Linked DNA regions of Homo sapiens: region 1 is linked to region 2. The links are contacts of gene promoters, found by promoter capture Hi-C in human tissues and cell types (Jung and others, 2019). All regions are on one chromosome and are shown on one strand. Each heading gives the region's core, a stretch centred on a gene start or on the middle of the fragment in contact. The rest is flanking DNA. Distances are from core to core; before and after follow the strand shown.

The links. Contacts are between HindIII fragments. The study calls those that stand out against the background at their distance.
Region 1: a fragment that was not itself captured here is called in contact with the fragment with the promoter of C3orf49 in region 2 in 1 of the 25 tissues and cell types used here (dorsolateral prefrontal cortex).

The regions. Positions count from the first base shown.
Region 1 is chr3:63,246,923-63,254,130 of GRCh38, forward strand. It overlaps a transcript of SYNPR not described here. Among named protein-coding and RNA genes, the nearest start is that of SYNPR, 28 kb to the right of the region's middle. The HindIII fragment of the contact is 7,290 bases long and covers 894-7,208 here.
Region 2 is chr3:63,814,655-63,821,717 of GRCh38, forward strand. It overlaps C3orf49 (chromosome 3 open reading frame 49), which reads left to right and starts at 4,645. Exons shown (of 7, transcript NM_001355236.2): 1 at 4,645-4,942. The coding sequence starts at 4,818. RefSeq lists a silencer at 3,992-4,111. The HindIII fragment of the contact is 1,936 bases long and covers 3,420-5,355 here.

The sequences.
Region 1 (7,208 bases), core at 3,289-5,788, 570 kb before region 2:
AACATTAAATGACATAGTATAGGCAAAAAGTTTAGCATATGGGCTTCATACTTGGGTGATGGGATGATCTGTGCAGCAAATCACCATGGCACATGTTTACCTATGTAGCAAAACTACACATCCTGCACATGTACCCCTGAACTTAGAAGTTGGAAAAAAAAAAGTTTAGCATAATACCTGACATTGTGCTGAGTTCAATAAATGTTAGCTATTTTTAGGGGAAAAATGCCTCTCTAAGAAACAAATTTTCTGCAACATTTAGACATAAAATAGATCATTAATGTTAAAATGGATCCAAATTCAGTCTTCTAAATACTATTTGACTATTATTACATAAGAAATGTTTTTTTTTTCCTGTCTGGTCCTGCACAACTTGCTTTTCCTCTATGAACCTTAGGTTTTGCAAATTAGGAAATTAAATAAAATCAGGGATGTTCAATCTAAAGCCTCCAAGTAGGATGACAGCTACTCCCCATGTTTTAAAATCCCTGGGTGAAATTTTAGACTTACTTCTGGTAAGGATAAGGAAGAACTCAACTATCAGGCTTGCTTAGAGCTGAATTATGAAGCATAAAGTTCAGTGGTTAGGGCGTCTCTGCCTATGGAGTGTGCTGAGCTGGGCAAGGCACTATCCCAAAAGGTCGCCCAGTGTATGTATACCTGAGAGTGTTGCTTTCCCCAAATTGTTGGCTTGAGATATTTTCAAAGGGCTCCGTCATCCAGCTCTAACACTTGGATGACCACTGGTCTGTTTCCACTGGATTAATTCTCCTTCCAATCCTTCTTTCCCAAACCTCATTTCTTCCCTTTCTGCCTCTTAAGGGAAAGGCATTTTACCCGCTCTCTCAGCGAGTCAGCCTAAATACCGTGAGGTGAAGGGTCAGAACACTGGGAAGTGCAGTTTCTGACGAAGAAGGAGCAGCTGCAGAGAAAGGAGTCCATCTAGGGCCATTTCCATCATGAAGAGAATGTGGCCAAAACATGGGGCAGAGAATCAGGAACCCAGGTGATGCCTCATATGGTGTCTTCCTTGGTGTTTGAATTATTTAACACAAGCTGCCTCACCCACCTTACAATGTAAGTAGGATTAAACAGAGCTGGCCAGAGCACTGAAGGGATACCTAACTGCCCAGGGGAAAGGTGATGCACAGAGGGGCCTTGGGATTGAGAGCTATTAAGTAGCAGTTCCAGAAAGGTCTGTTCCAAGAAATGCCACAGCTTGTATTAAAAACTCCCTCCTTGTTCCCTGCAGAATTCATCAGACCCCCAAAACCTGTTAATGCTGATTCTGCAACTTACCAAATGCTGACTTTGGGCAAGTTTTTTTAACCTCTCTGAACATGAGGCTCCATTTATAAAATAGGACTTGCAATAAATACCTCGCAGTATTGCCTGGCACTTGGTATGGCTTCAGGACATGGTAGCAATTGTGATGAAGATACGGGTGAAGTGTGGTGGTTGCAGGGAACCTAAGTGTTTCTCAGATTTTAAGGTGCCTTCTAGCTGGAAGACAGTATGCTAATTTGGGTAAGAGATGCATAAGTATGAATTACAAAATATAATAAATGGACACAGAGAAGGTTGAAAGAGTGAGAAATCAGATATTTTAGATGCTACAGAATCGAGGTGTTGAGAAAAAATTAATCATGCAGTTGGTAATCAGTACTCATTTGTTCATTCTGAAGTTTATATGTGTGTTCTTTTAGCTTCTCTTTGTGGAGTTCTATCGATTGTTGTGGAAACTGTTTGAGACAGTGACAACATAAGATATGTGAAATAGATGCTCTGCAACATTTGAATTGAAACCAAAATCCATTGTGCTAATTAGTTATTGGAATCTTGGCATAATTACACATGCTCAAGGGACATTCACTGATTACGTTAGCTGTCTCTCATGGCTGCTATCATGTGAGTATTAGAACAAATCCCATTTTGATGAGAATTAGCTCTGCATTTGCAGTGTGAAGATATGATAACATTGTCAACGCATAATTGTTAGCTCTGTGTTAGTGACTCAGTTTTTCATCCTCAGTTTTGTTTTTTTTACCTATCCCTATATAATATTCAGTTGCTGTCAAATGAAGGAGAAACTGGGAAGTAGTTGCCTTAAATTCTGTGTAATTTGCCTTCCCAAACAAAAGTAAATAAATATATGATTTTTAAAATTCTATTTAATGCACTTTAAGATTATGTAACAAAACATTTTGCACATCAGTAAGGAGTTCAGGGAATGTAAGACGCAAAAGGCCAGAATATCTGTGAGAATATGTTCAATCACTCGTATAACTAAAGACATGGAAAATCAGAAAACCAAGAGATCATATTTTCAGCTATCAGAGTGAAAGAAGTTTAAATATGTGATAAACCCTAGAAAATGAAGCTATGGAGAGACAGGCACTTCTATACAAGATTGCGATAGTGTAGTCTTTTTGAAGGGGAGATGTGGTGATATTCATCAATATTTTAAAAACACTTACCCTTTGTCCCAGGAATTCCAATGCTAGGATTTTTATTGTCTATATTCTTACATAAATTCTTAAGCTATGTGGGCAAGGATGTTAATTGGAGCTAAGCTATGAGGATGCAAAGGTATAAGAATAATACAATGGACTTTGGGGAATTAGAAGAAAGAGTGGGAGGGGGCGAGGGATAAAAGACTACAGATATGTGCAGTGTACACTGCTCGGGTGATGGGCACAACAAAATCTCACAGATCACCTCTGAAGAACTTACTCATGTAACCAAATACCACCTGTACCCCAATAACTTATGGAAAAATAATTACAACAAAAATGGAAACAACATAAGTGACTTCCTGTAGGGAATCATAAATAGGACATATATACGTGTAATAAGGTAACATTCTGTAATGTCAGCTTTTTTATTTTTTGCTTGAATTTTTTTCAGCTGGTATATTGATTGCATGCCTTGCTTTGGGGGATGAATGACACAGCAGAATGCAAATAACACATAAATAGAGAATGTCTGGCTTTTGAGTTCCAAAAGCCTAGACTCTGACATCAAGAAAATATTTGGAAGCTTGAACAGTGAATAAGAGAAACTTACCTACCTGCAACCATGGATTAAAAATTCCCTGGCCCAGAAGGGTAAGGAAGAGGGGAGAATAGGGAGAAGTTAGTTAACAGATACAAAATTACATATAGCTGGGAGGAATAGGTTCTAGGGTTCTATAGCATTGTAGGATAAATATGGCTAACCATAAATCATTGTATATTTTCAAAAAAGCTGGAAGAAAGAATTATGAATGTTCAGACCACAAAGGAATTGTAAATGTTTGAGGTAATGGATATGCTAATTGCTCTGGTTTGATATACATGTATCAAAATACCAGTCAGTATCTCATGCATATGTACAATTATTACATGTCAACTAAAAATACAAGGAAAATAAATAAAATAAAATAAAATAAAAATAAAATTATCCAAGATCTCCACGCCTGGGGCAATTATTCATTCCTAACAGGACTGAAAAATAGAAACTAGCCTTTCTGAAGTGCCTGCTATATACCAGGCACTTTTACATATCCATATTTCATTAAGGGAATCCTCACACAACTTTTTGGGAGAGAGCTCTTACGAGTCCCAGTTTTAATGATGTCTGAGAACAAGTCTAAGGTGACATGGTCAACATGTGGTTAGTAGGTGCCATAAGTGGAATCCAAATTTTGGTGTATTTTACACAAAACATTTTCTTTAATTGAGGAAAACTCTATAAGCTAGGTATGATTTTAGCTTAAATTTAAAGATGAGGAAAATGAGTCTCACAGAGACCAAGACTGCACAGTCAGAAAGTGACAGAGCCAGAATTACAACTCAGACTGCCTGTAGAGTTCACGTTAACCATGATGTCAACCTGCCTACTCAGACTTTTGGTTCAAGATGATGTGCTGAGCATGTGTTTAAGCTTCTGATCCATCCTATGGACCCATTAAATTAATGTTACTCATTATAAGTATTTTTTTGGCTGTTTTCTTTTTTTTAGCTATGGAAACTAGTATTTTGATAAAGACTTAAAAGTAAATAGAAGCATAACACTTAAAATTACAATAGAAACCACCAAAAGAACAAAAATAAGAAACTGTTAAAAGTTGTGGTCTCTGGGGAGTGGGACAGAAAGGAAAAATTTACTTTTTATTTCACATATTTTGAACTTTGTACTACTGGGTACATTTTCTGCATCTATATTGTTTCGTTCAGAGAAAAAAATTAAAGAAAGCAAAAATAAAACAAGGAAATTGAAGGACGAAAGAAGAAATAAATATGCATGAAATTCCACACAATAGAATATTAAGCAGCTGCCCAAAAGATGGGGACAGATTTATTGTCCTGCCACGAAAAAGTCTCTAAGACATATTGCTAAATAAAAAAATAATCCTGGTATCAAAAAAAAAATCCCTGGGTTGGGAGAAGAGGAGTTAGAAGGAAAGCATATATGTGCCCCAGAAAGGAGCCTTCAATTTAAGACTGAATTCAGGGGTTCAAGAGTGGGAGGTAATGAAGTCTGAGAGAAAAGAAAACTTGCTTCTTGTTTTTGCCTGGAAAATGACAAGATCCACAATTTTGGCAGTGTCCTGACATAATGCTGAAAGAATAGAGTAGGAAGAGCTGTGTGGTGTAACTAAAATCTGACAGAGCTTGCAAGATTTCCCCCAAATCCAGCATGGCAGAGTAATTCCCTGTGTCTGAGAGCAACGTAGACATATCAAAGAGATCTGCAGGTTCTGACAGGACTGAAATGCGATCCCGGGATGATCAGCAAAGATCTACGTAATCAGTGACCGAGGACCAGATAGGACAATACACACCTCTGCATCCGTCTGCTTGGAAAGACAACAACCAAGGAGAAGATGCCATACTCATGCCCTATACCCTCTGTTCTATATAAACCTCAGGTAACTCAGACAAATGCCATGAAGGAAAACCCTGAACTCACACAGATCACGTTTTGACTACTCAGGAGAATAGAATCCTAAGATAAAATCAGGTTGAGTAAAAGAAAAATAAAGGCAATTAAATGTCTTCCATACTTGAGTTAGTGAAATGAGATAGTCTCTATCAATTTAATAGATACATAATACTCCATGGTATGGGGGTACCATGGAGTATTATGTATCTATTAAAAATAAAGAGGCAAGTAAATATACTCTGATATAAAAGATCTGCAAGATAAATTTTAAATTAAAAAAGACAAGGTGAAGAACAATTTGAATAATGTGTATTCTATTTGCAGAAAAATGCTATGTGTTCTAAATGTTTCAAGGATATGAATGACACAGTCAACTGTGAATTTCTCTAGAGACTGAGATGTTTCATTTCATATTATTTTATAAAGGTTTCTTATAAACTAAAATCACGTATTCCTTTTATAATACATAATAAAATATCCTTCTTGTCTTTACATCATGTTTAGTGATCCATTACATTGAATTTGAATTCCATTTATGAAGCATTTATTTCTATAATTTCAGAATAAAGGATGAAAACATTGTGTCTTAAATATTTTTTGGCTGTAGCATAAATCTGCCAGAGAGAATTAATTTCGTTTTCTTTTTTCAGTTACAAAGAGTGTTACACTGCGCCTTTAAGGAAAACTTTCCTTCATCATTCCTGTAAGCGTGGACATGCAACTTCTCTCACCACAAAGGTACAGAAAACATTTCTAAAAATGTGCTGATAACAGAACAAGGAGGCATGATTTGAAAAGCTGCACAAAATCCTGCGTTTTCATACCCCCTAGCATATGGTCATGCATGCAGTTAATGGACACTGAGCAAATCACCAGAATTTATATATGCAGATAAGAATGGTTCCATTCAGGCTGGGCACAGGGGCTCATGCCTGTAATCTTAGCACGTTGGGTGGCTGAGGAGGGCAGATCACCTGAGGTCAGGAGTTCAAGACCAGCCTGGCCAACATGGTGAAACTGTCTCTACTAAAAATACAAAAATTATCCAGGCATGGTAGCGCTCGCCTGTAGTCCCAGCTACTTGGGAGGCTGAGGTGGGAGGATTGCTTGAAATGGGGAGGTGGAGGTTGCAGTGAGCTGAGATTATGTGACTGCACTCCAGCCTGGGTGACAGAGTGAGACTCTGTCTCAGAAAAAAAAAAAAAAAAAGAATAGTTCCATTTTTCTTTTTCAGTTATTCTAAACCACTGAAAATATTTGGCAAGTCCATTTATAGAACTGTTTTTAGAGTTTATGGCACATTCTTTTGAATGTTCAGATGCCAAATAATCACCATTTGAGGGTGGATTTAAATTTTAATAGCAGCTAAAGGCCATTTAGAGTCAAGTATGGTAAATAAGAAAGTCACTCAATTTGGATAATAAATTCACAGTAAAAAAAAATACATATATAGTAACTACAAAACATGATTGTTCTCCAAGCTCTGAAGGAAACAATGTCATATCCTCCAAAACAAACTCTTGAATGTTTTAAACAACTGTAGCATCATTTGGACAACTGCATTGCCTTCCTAAAGACTACCTTGAAATAATAATTTTGATGAATAAATCCTAGTCTGTTAAAAATAAGCCTAACTGATTTATAGCAGCATTCTATATATTGTATTTGTTTAAAAATATTGATGTATAAGATTTTTAAATAAAAGATACATGAAAAAATGCTTATCATCACTGGCCATCAGAGAAATGCAAATCAAAATCACAATGAGATACCATCTCACACCAGTTAGAATGGCGATCATTAAAAAGTCAGGAAACTACAGGTGCTGGAGAGGATGTGGAGAAATAAGAACACTTTTACACTGTTGGTGGGACTGTAAACTAGTTCAATCATTGTGGAAGTCAGTGTGGCGATTCCTCAGGGATCTAGAACTAGAAATACCATTTGACCCAGCCATCTCATTACTGAGTATATACCCAAAGGATTATAAAACATGCTACTGTAAAGACACATGCATATGTATGTTTATTGCGGCACTATTCACAATAGCAAAGACTTGGAACCAACCCAAATGTCCAACAATGATAGACTGGATTAAGAAAATGTGGCACATATACACCATGGAATACTATGAAGCCATAAAAAATGATGAGTTCCTGTCCTTTGTAGGGACATGGATGAAGCTGGAAACCATCATTCTCAGCAAACTATCGCAAGGACAAAAAAACCAAACACCGCATGTTCTCACTCATAGGTGGGAATTGAACAATGAGAACACATGG
Region 2 (7,063 bases), core at 3,395-5,894:
TCCAAGCCATGTCCTGTGAAGGGTGGTTGATAAAGAGAGTTGACTGATGGGGGACTCCTGAATGGGTGCCCTTCTCCTTAGTTCCACTGTTCCCCCTTTAGTTAAACCCTTGGACTACAGCAACAACTTAACACCCCAACTGAGTATCTCTTCTCTACTCACCCCCTATAGTAGGCTGTTCTTGCATTACTATAAAGAAATACCCAAGACTGGGTAATTTACTAAAAAAAAGGTTTAATTGACTCATGGTTCTGCAGGCTGTACAGGAAGCATGGCACCAGCATCTGTTTTTTGGGAGGCCTCTGGAAGCTCACAATCCTGGCTGAAGGCGAAGTGGGAGCTTGCACATCACTACGTGAAAGCAGGGGCAAGAGAGAGAGCAGGGAGTGCCACGCACTTTTAAACAACCAGATCTTGCAAGAACTCACTTGCTATCACGAGGACAGTAACAGGGGATGCCACAAAACCATGGGTGAGAAACTGCCCCATGATCCAATCACTTCCCACCAGGCCCCACCTTCAACACTGGCAATTACATTTCAATATGAGATTTGGGCAGGGACACATATCCAAACTGTATCATCCCCTATATCCCAGTTCATTTCAGGGACACATATCCAAACTGTATCTCCCCCATATCCCAATTCATTTCAGTATTTAACTTCTTAAATATTGCCTGGATCTGCACACTTCTGGTACTCCTCACCCCCATCTGTTGCCGGCCTGGACCAAGTGCCTACCTAATGACTTTTCAACACTCACTTTTTCCTCTCCAATGTATTCTCCAAGCTGCACACAGCAACATTTTAAAAACGTATGCATAACTATGCCTTCCCCATGTCACCTATGTTCCCACCACATTGCTCTTCTTCCTGCCCTCAGACATGCCTGGTTTGCACCTGCATGTGAACCTTTGCTCATGTCGTTTTCTGTCTTTGAAATACCTCTCCCAGATCTCAGCATAGTTTGTCTCTTTTTCAACATTAAATGTCTCACTTCAAACACCACCTCCTTAAGAGATCTTTCTTGATGATTTTGGAGGAGTGCCCACTCCCAGTCACTTTCTACCACGTTTTTCTACTTTTTATTTGTTTGTTTTTTTCTTTTCTTTTCTTTCTTTTTTTTTTTTTTTTGACAGAGTCTTGCTCTGTCGCCAGGCTGGAGTGCAGTGGCCTGATCTCAGCTCACTGCATCCTCTGCCTCCTGGGTTCAAGCGAGGAGGCGTGAAGCCGGGAGGTTCTCCTCCCTCGTCCTCCTGAGTAGCTGGGATACAGGCGTGTGCCACCATGCCCAGCTAATTTTTCTATTTTTAGTAGAGACGGGGTTTCACCGTGTTGGCCAGGATGGTCTCGATCTCTTGACCTCGTGATCTGCCTGCCTCGGCCTCTCAAAGTGCCGGGATTACAGGCATGAGCCACCATGCCTGGCCTGTTTTTCTTTTTATTTATTTATTTTTAATTCTTTTTTCTTTGTTGATTTTGTTTTTTTTTTTCTATTTGTCTCATAGCATACTTTGTCAGTACCTGAAACAATTTTCTATTGGTTAACATATTGGTGTCTGTGTCCTCCACTAGAATTGTAATTCCTGGGCAAGGATTTTAGTCATTTTCTTCACAACTGAATTCCATTTCCCTGAATAAATATATGAACAAGTTCCCTAAAAACCCTCAGTAAGGCTGTAATCCCAGCACTTTGGGAGGCTGAGGCAGGTGGATCACCTGAGCTCAGGAGTTCCAGACCAGCCTGAGCAACACGGTGAAACCTCGTCTCTACTAAAAATACAAAAAATTAGCTGGGCGTGGTGGCACGTGCCTGTAACCCCAGCTACTCAGGAGGCACAAGAATCGCTTGAACCCAGAAGGTAGAGGTTGCAGTGAGCGTGGTGCCACTGCACTCCAGCCTGGGTGACAGAGTAAGATGCTGTTTAAACAACAACAACAACAACAAACAAACCAAAAAAACCTCAACAACTCCCCATTGCTCTGAAGATCAAGACCAAAACCTTTAATTTGATCTATAGGACTCAAGAGATTTGGTCCTCCCTCCAGCTTATCACACACATCTACCTCTTTGCTCCAGCCACCCTAGCTTTCTTCCACATTTTCTTTTCTTTTCTTTTTTTTTTTTTTTTTTTGTGAGACAGAATCTTGCTCTGTCGCCCAGGCTGGAGTGCAGTGGCGCGATCTCGGCTCACTGCAAGCTCTGCCTCCCGTGTTCACGCCATTCTCCTGCCTCAACCTCCTGAGTAGCTGGGACTACAGGCACCCGTTACCACGCCCGGCTAATTTTTTTGTATTTTTAGTAGAGATGGGGGTTTCACCACGTTAGGCAGGATGTTCTCGATCTCCTGCTCTCGTGATCCACCCACCTCGGCCTCCCAAAGTGCTGGGATTACAGGCGTGAGCCATCGCACCTGACCGCTTTCTTCCACATTTTCAAAGACACTGGGCTTCTTCCACCTCCGGGCTTTGGCACATGCTGTTTCATCTGCCTGGGTCACACAAATTTTCACACGATTGGCTCTTTTCCCCGTTCAGCATTCAGGACCAATGACCTCATTGGACAGGCTTTCCTAACGCTCCATCTAAAGTCACTCCTCATCCTCAGTCACTCTATCCCATCATCCTCTTTTACTTTTTTCATAACATTTACTACCAGCTGAAATTAAAATGTTCATTTCCTTGTTACCTGCATCTCCCACAGCATATTAAGTTATATGAGTTCAGAGATTTTGTGTATGTTGTTCACTGCAGTATCCCTGGTGTCTAGGGTGGTGTCTAGGGTGGTGCCTGGGAACCACTAGGCATTCAAATATTTGTTAAATAACTGAATGACTCAAAGAAGCTTGGGAGGTAGCAGTTATTACTCCTGTTTTACGAACGAGAAAATGAAGGTCCAAAGAGGTTTTCGTTACCCGCCCAAGGACCCATAAGCTTGGAAGGGGTAGATCTAGAATGTAAATCCAGACACAGCTCAAAATTGATGTCTCTCTATACTCTAACTCTTTCCCCACCCCCTTCCCACTCCTTCTAGTTCTGTCATCTGCTTCAGGACTCCTTTGGGAACCTACAAGTTTTGTCACAGATGCCACAGCAGCAAGTGTTTCAGCCTATTACATACACACATACATGCAGACATGCACACACAGAGACATGTACATAGACACCCATGCACAAATAAAAAACAGCTGTCTTTCCTAGCATAAAATTCATCTCATTCATCTAGATAATTGATGAAATACAACAGAATTAAGGCAGGAGTGCCAATAATTGCATGAAAAATATTGCCCTGTTGCTAAAGAAAATATTCATGTATTCATTTATTCAAGCACCTATTATTTATTGTGCTCTGAGGATGCCAACAGATGAGGAAAAACAGACCAGGGAGGAGCATATGTCCATTTGGCCAAGGCATATTAGATATGCTCTACTTCAGCGTTTCTCAAATAAGGGACAGAGGAACATCTGCACCCACTCTCCTAGAATATGGATTCCTGGGTCTCATTCCCTGCTGAAGCGGAATTTCTATTTCACTTGAATTTTGCCATAAAACTATGGCTTGGGCACTATGAGTTGTCCCACTTTAGGGATGAGAAAACAAGCATGGGTGGGTTAAAATGAATTGGCCAAGGTCACATAGCTAAGCTAGAAATGAGAACTCATGCATAATTCCCAAATCCACTCTCTTAGCCCCTTAACATTATACACTTCATTCTAGACCATTTTAAAGCTCTTTTCCCCAGTACTGAAACATACAAGACCCTCACTACTCCAAGTGCAGTCTGGCATCATCAGCGTCACCTGCGGGTTTGTTAGGAGTGCAAATTCTTGGATCCCAGCCCAGATGTACTGTATCGAAATCTGCATCTTAAAAAGACCTCCAGGAAGTTTGTGTGCACTTGAAAGCTTGAGAAGTATGCTCCAGATTATTGATTAATGCAAACACAGAAAGCAGAGTAATTCTTGTAACTCCCAGAACCTTTCTAGAGGAGTTTTTCTTGTTAAGCATCTAGTTATTTGACTGAACAACTCAAACCGCGAGAGGGTAACAGGAATAAATCCTAGTGTCTGCTGCCACCTTGTGGTGAGAAGTTCCATCACAGGCAGAATTCGCTCTTCACCACGAAATAAATGGGGCAATGTTGGAAGGGAGGGGTGGATCAGGTCCTCAATTTAGCAATGTACTTTGAGAGACCACTGCAAAATTCCAAGATGTAATGAAAACCACCCTTGGGGTACATTTTGAGATGTCCAAACAACAACTGGCCTTGTCATATGTGTCCCACAGGACACAGAGAACATTCACCAGCTGTAACTGAGAGATCTAACAGAAGCTCAACTTGTGTTAATCAGCGTATCGTTGGTATTCCTATAGGTCCCTACCACTTCAGAGTTCAAATACGCACTTCTGAATGTGGTGGTCAATTAGTGTGTGGGTGTTTTTTGTTGTTGTTGTTGTTGTTTGATTTTTTTTTTCTATCCAAATGCCAGCATTGAGGCAATCAGATCATCATTTCTGTATTTGCCTTGTTCAAGAATCTGTGAAGTGTTCCACAAAGGTCCATGGAATTTCACACAGCTCTGTCAAATACATCACTGGTGACCTCTGTGAAGTTGTAAACAGGGCCAGTCCCACAAATAATGTCTCTAACACCTGGAAGGGAATAAGGGAAAGACTCTAAAAATTTCCTACATATTTTATTCCGAATAGCCCACACCTTGACAGTACATTCAGTCACTGGATGATTTTGTATTGAAGTCTGTAAGTTCAAGAACTAAAACAATCCAAAACGGCTACTACAGGTGAAGTTGAGAGCAATGGCCCAACCTCAGCTGTATCTACCAGAACCCTTTAAGATTGCCTACAGAAAAGTTGGACAGTGCCGAAGATTCCAGCAACTCAAGAAGAAAAATGGCTCATTCAAAAGGAAGGGGATAGAAAGGTAACAGAGATTCATTTCCTTTTCTGTCAAATGAGAGTCTTTGGGTTTGGCATAGTGGCATGTCCTTTTAAGCATTGCATTTAGGAATGAGGACTCTGGATGGATTGGCGGGGAGGGTACTGCGTTGGATCAAGAAATCTAGTGTGACAATGTAAGCTTCATTTTATGATCAGAAACATCTTAATTGTAACAGGGAAAACCTTTCCTTTCCACTCGAAATTAAGTTTCAATGTGGCATAGGAGACTAAAATAAGTTCTGATCCTATGTTGATATTTCAGCATCAGAATTTTGGACATCTCACATCCCGTGAAAATACTATTATTTTGAAAAGTCATTAGTGCATTCTTCGAAATAGGTCCACGATCAGTGCTTTCTTTCTCCTATCCCAGCAATTTGGGCTGCTGAAATATGTACTAATCACATTTCACTATGGACACATTGTTTAATGTAACGTTAAAACTGCCTTAGACTTGCTATTTTTTTGCCAATGACAAAACCATATAGACAGGTATGAAACATCCAAAATATAATATATTTTAATTTGGAAAGTCAGTGTGGTGATTTATTTTCCAATTTCTTTGGGCTTCTCTCTTACCAGGTCCATGGGCTATAGTTCAGACATGTAGAAGTGAGGTGTTTTAATGAGTCCTGGAAGCATCAAAGACCAAGCTTGTGAACTTCCATGGACAAAATAAAATACTGCAGAGATTTCCACTTTCAATGAAAAGTAGGCACTCCGGGGGAAGCAATACAACCAAATAAATTCAGTACCAACACAAAAATATTTAAAAACTTAAGAAGGGGAGGGTTCTGCTCATATCAGAAATTGCAGCAGTGTGTTCCTAGGCTCTGGAGCTAAATCACCTTTGTTAATTATGTTCTAGATAGATTGGGGATGAGAGTGGGGAGGATGGGAATGGGAAACACCTTCTAGAGATTCTGAGACCACTTAGAACTGGGCTTTTAACATGGGTGGTCTTCAAAATTCCTGAATCTCCTGAAACTGTATTTGCATTGTTCTGTGTCACAGTATGTGTATGTGTGTACATGTTTATAGTAGTAGAATCACTTAAAAATTAAATTATTATTAAAGGAGTCTCAGAGGGGTCTACGGGAGATTAATCCTACCCATAAGTTATCTCTGGGTGAATTAGGAAATGGTGCTCCCTCCTCAGGACATTTTACTGCCATCTGCCAGAAAATCATTATAATAACTATACACAAGTCTAAGGATGAAATTGAATAGCACCCCCTAGAAGTCATATATGTACATTTTGCAGAACCCTGCCCTTGGTCCCAGAAGGGAGGCTGCTAGCTTCTCCCTTATTTTGCCCTCTAGTGTGGGCTCCCTGCTTGCCTTTTAAGTTAATGGATTTTCCCCATAAGTTAATGGCTTTTCCCCACTGTTCTGATCCACATGGTAATAAAAAGTATCATTTATGGAATGCTTTTTAAGGTTCCAAACACATGAATTATTTCCTTTTATTTTCATAATTCTGAAAAGATTATGCCCATTTTCAAATGAGAAGACCAAAGCTTATAGAGGTTACATGACATGCCCAAGGTCACAGAGTTAGGAATTGTCCTGAGTTAAACCAATACCATTCAACTCCAGTGTCTAGGCTGTCACTGAACCACTTCCCATATATAATTACAGAAAAAGGCTGAATGATTTGGGTTCTGTTTAGAACAGTGTTTTCCTGGAGAGTAGTACATATGCTACTGATGGTACATGAGATATTTTAGGTAATATATGAAGAACATTGTTAATGGTTATAAATTTGTTTTAATCCATATTAGAAATATATGTTATATATTTAATACAACGTAATAGCATAATATAAAACCTGGGATTTCACCCAGAGAAATGAAAACTTATGTTCATACAAAACCTATAGATAAATGTTTATAGCAGCTTTATTCATAATAGCCCCAAACTGGAAACAACCCAAGTATCCTTCAATCAGTGAATAGTTAAACAAAGTGTGGTACATTCACATCATGGACTATTACTCAGCAATAAAAAGATATGAACAATTAATACACAAAATCTGGATGAATGCCCAAAGAATTATGCTGAGTGAAAAAAAGCATATCTCAAAAAATTACATGATGTATAT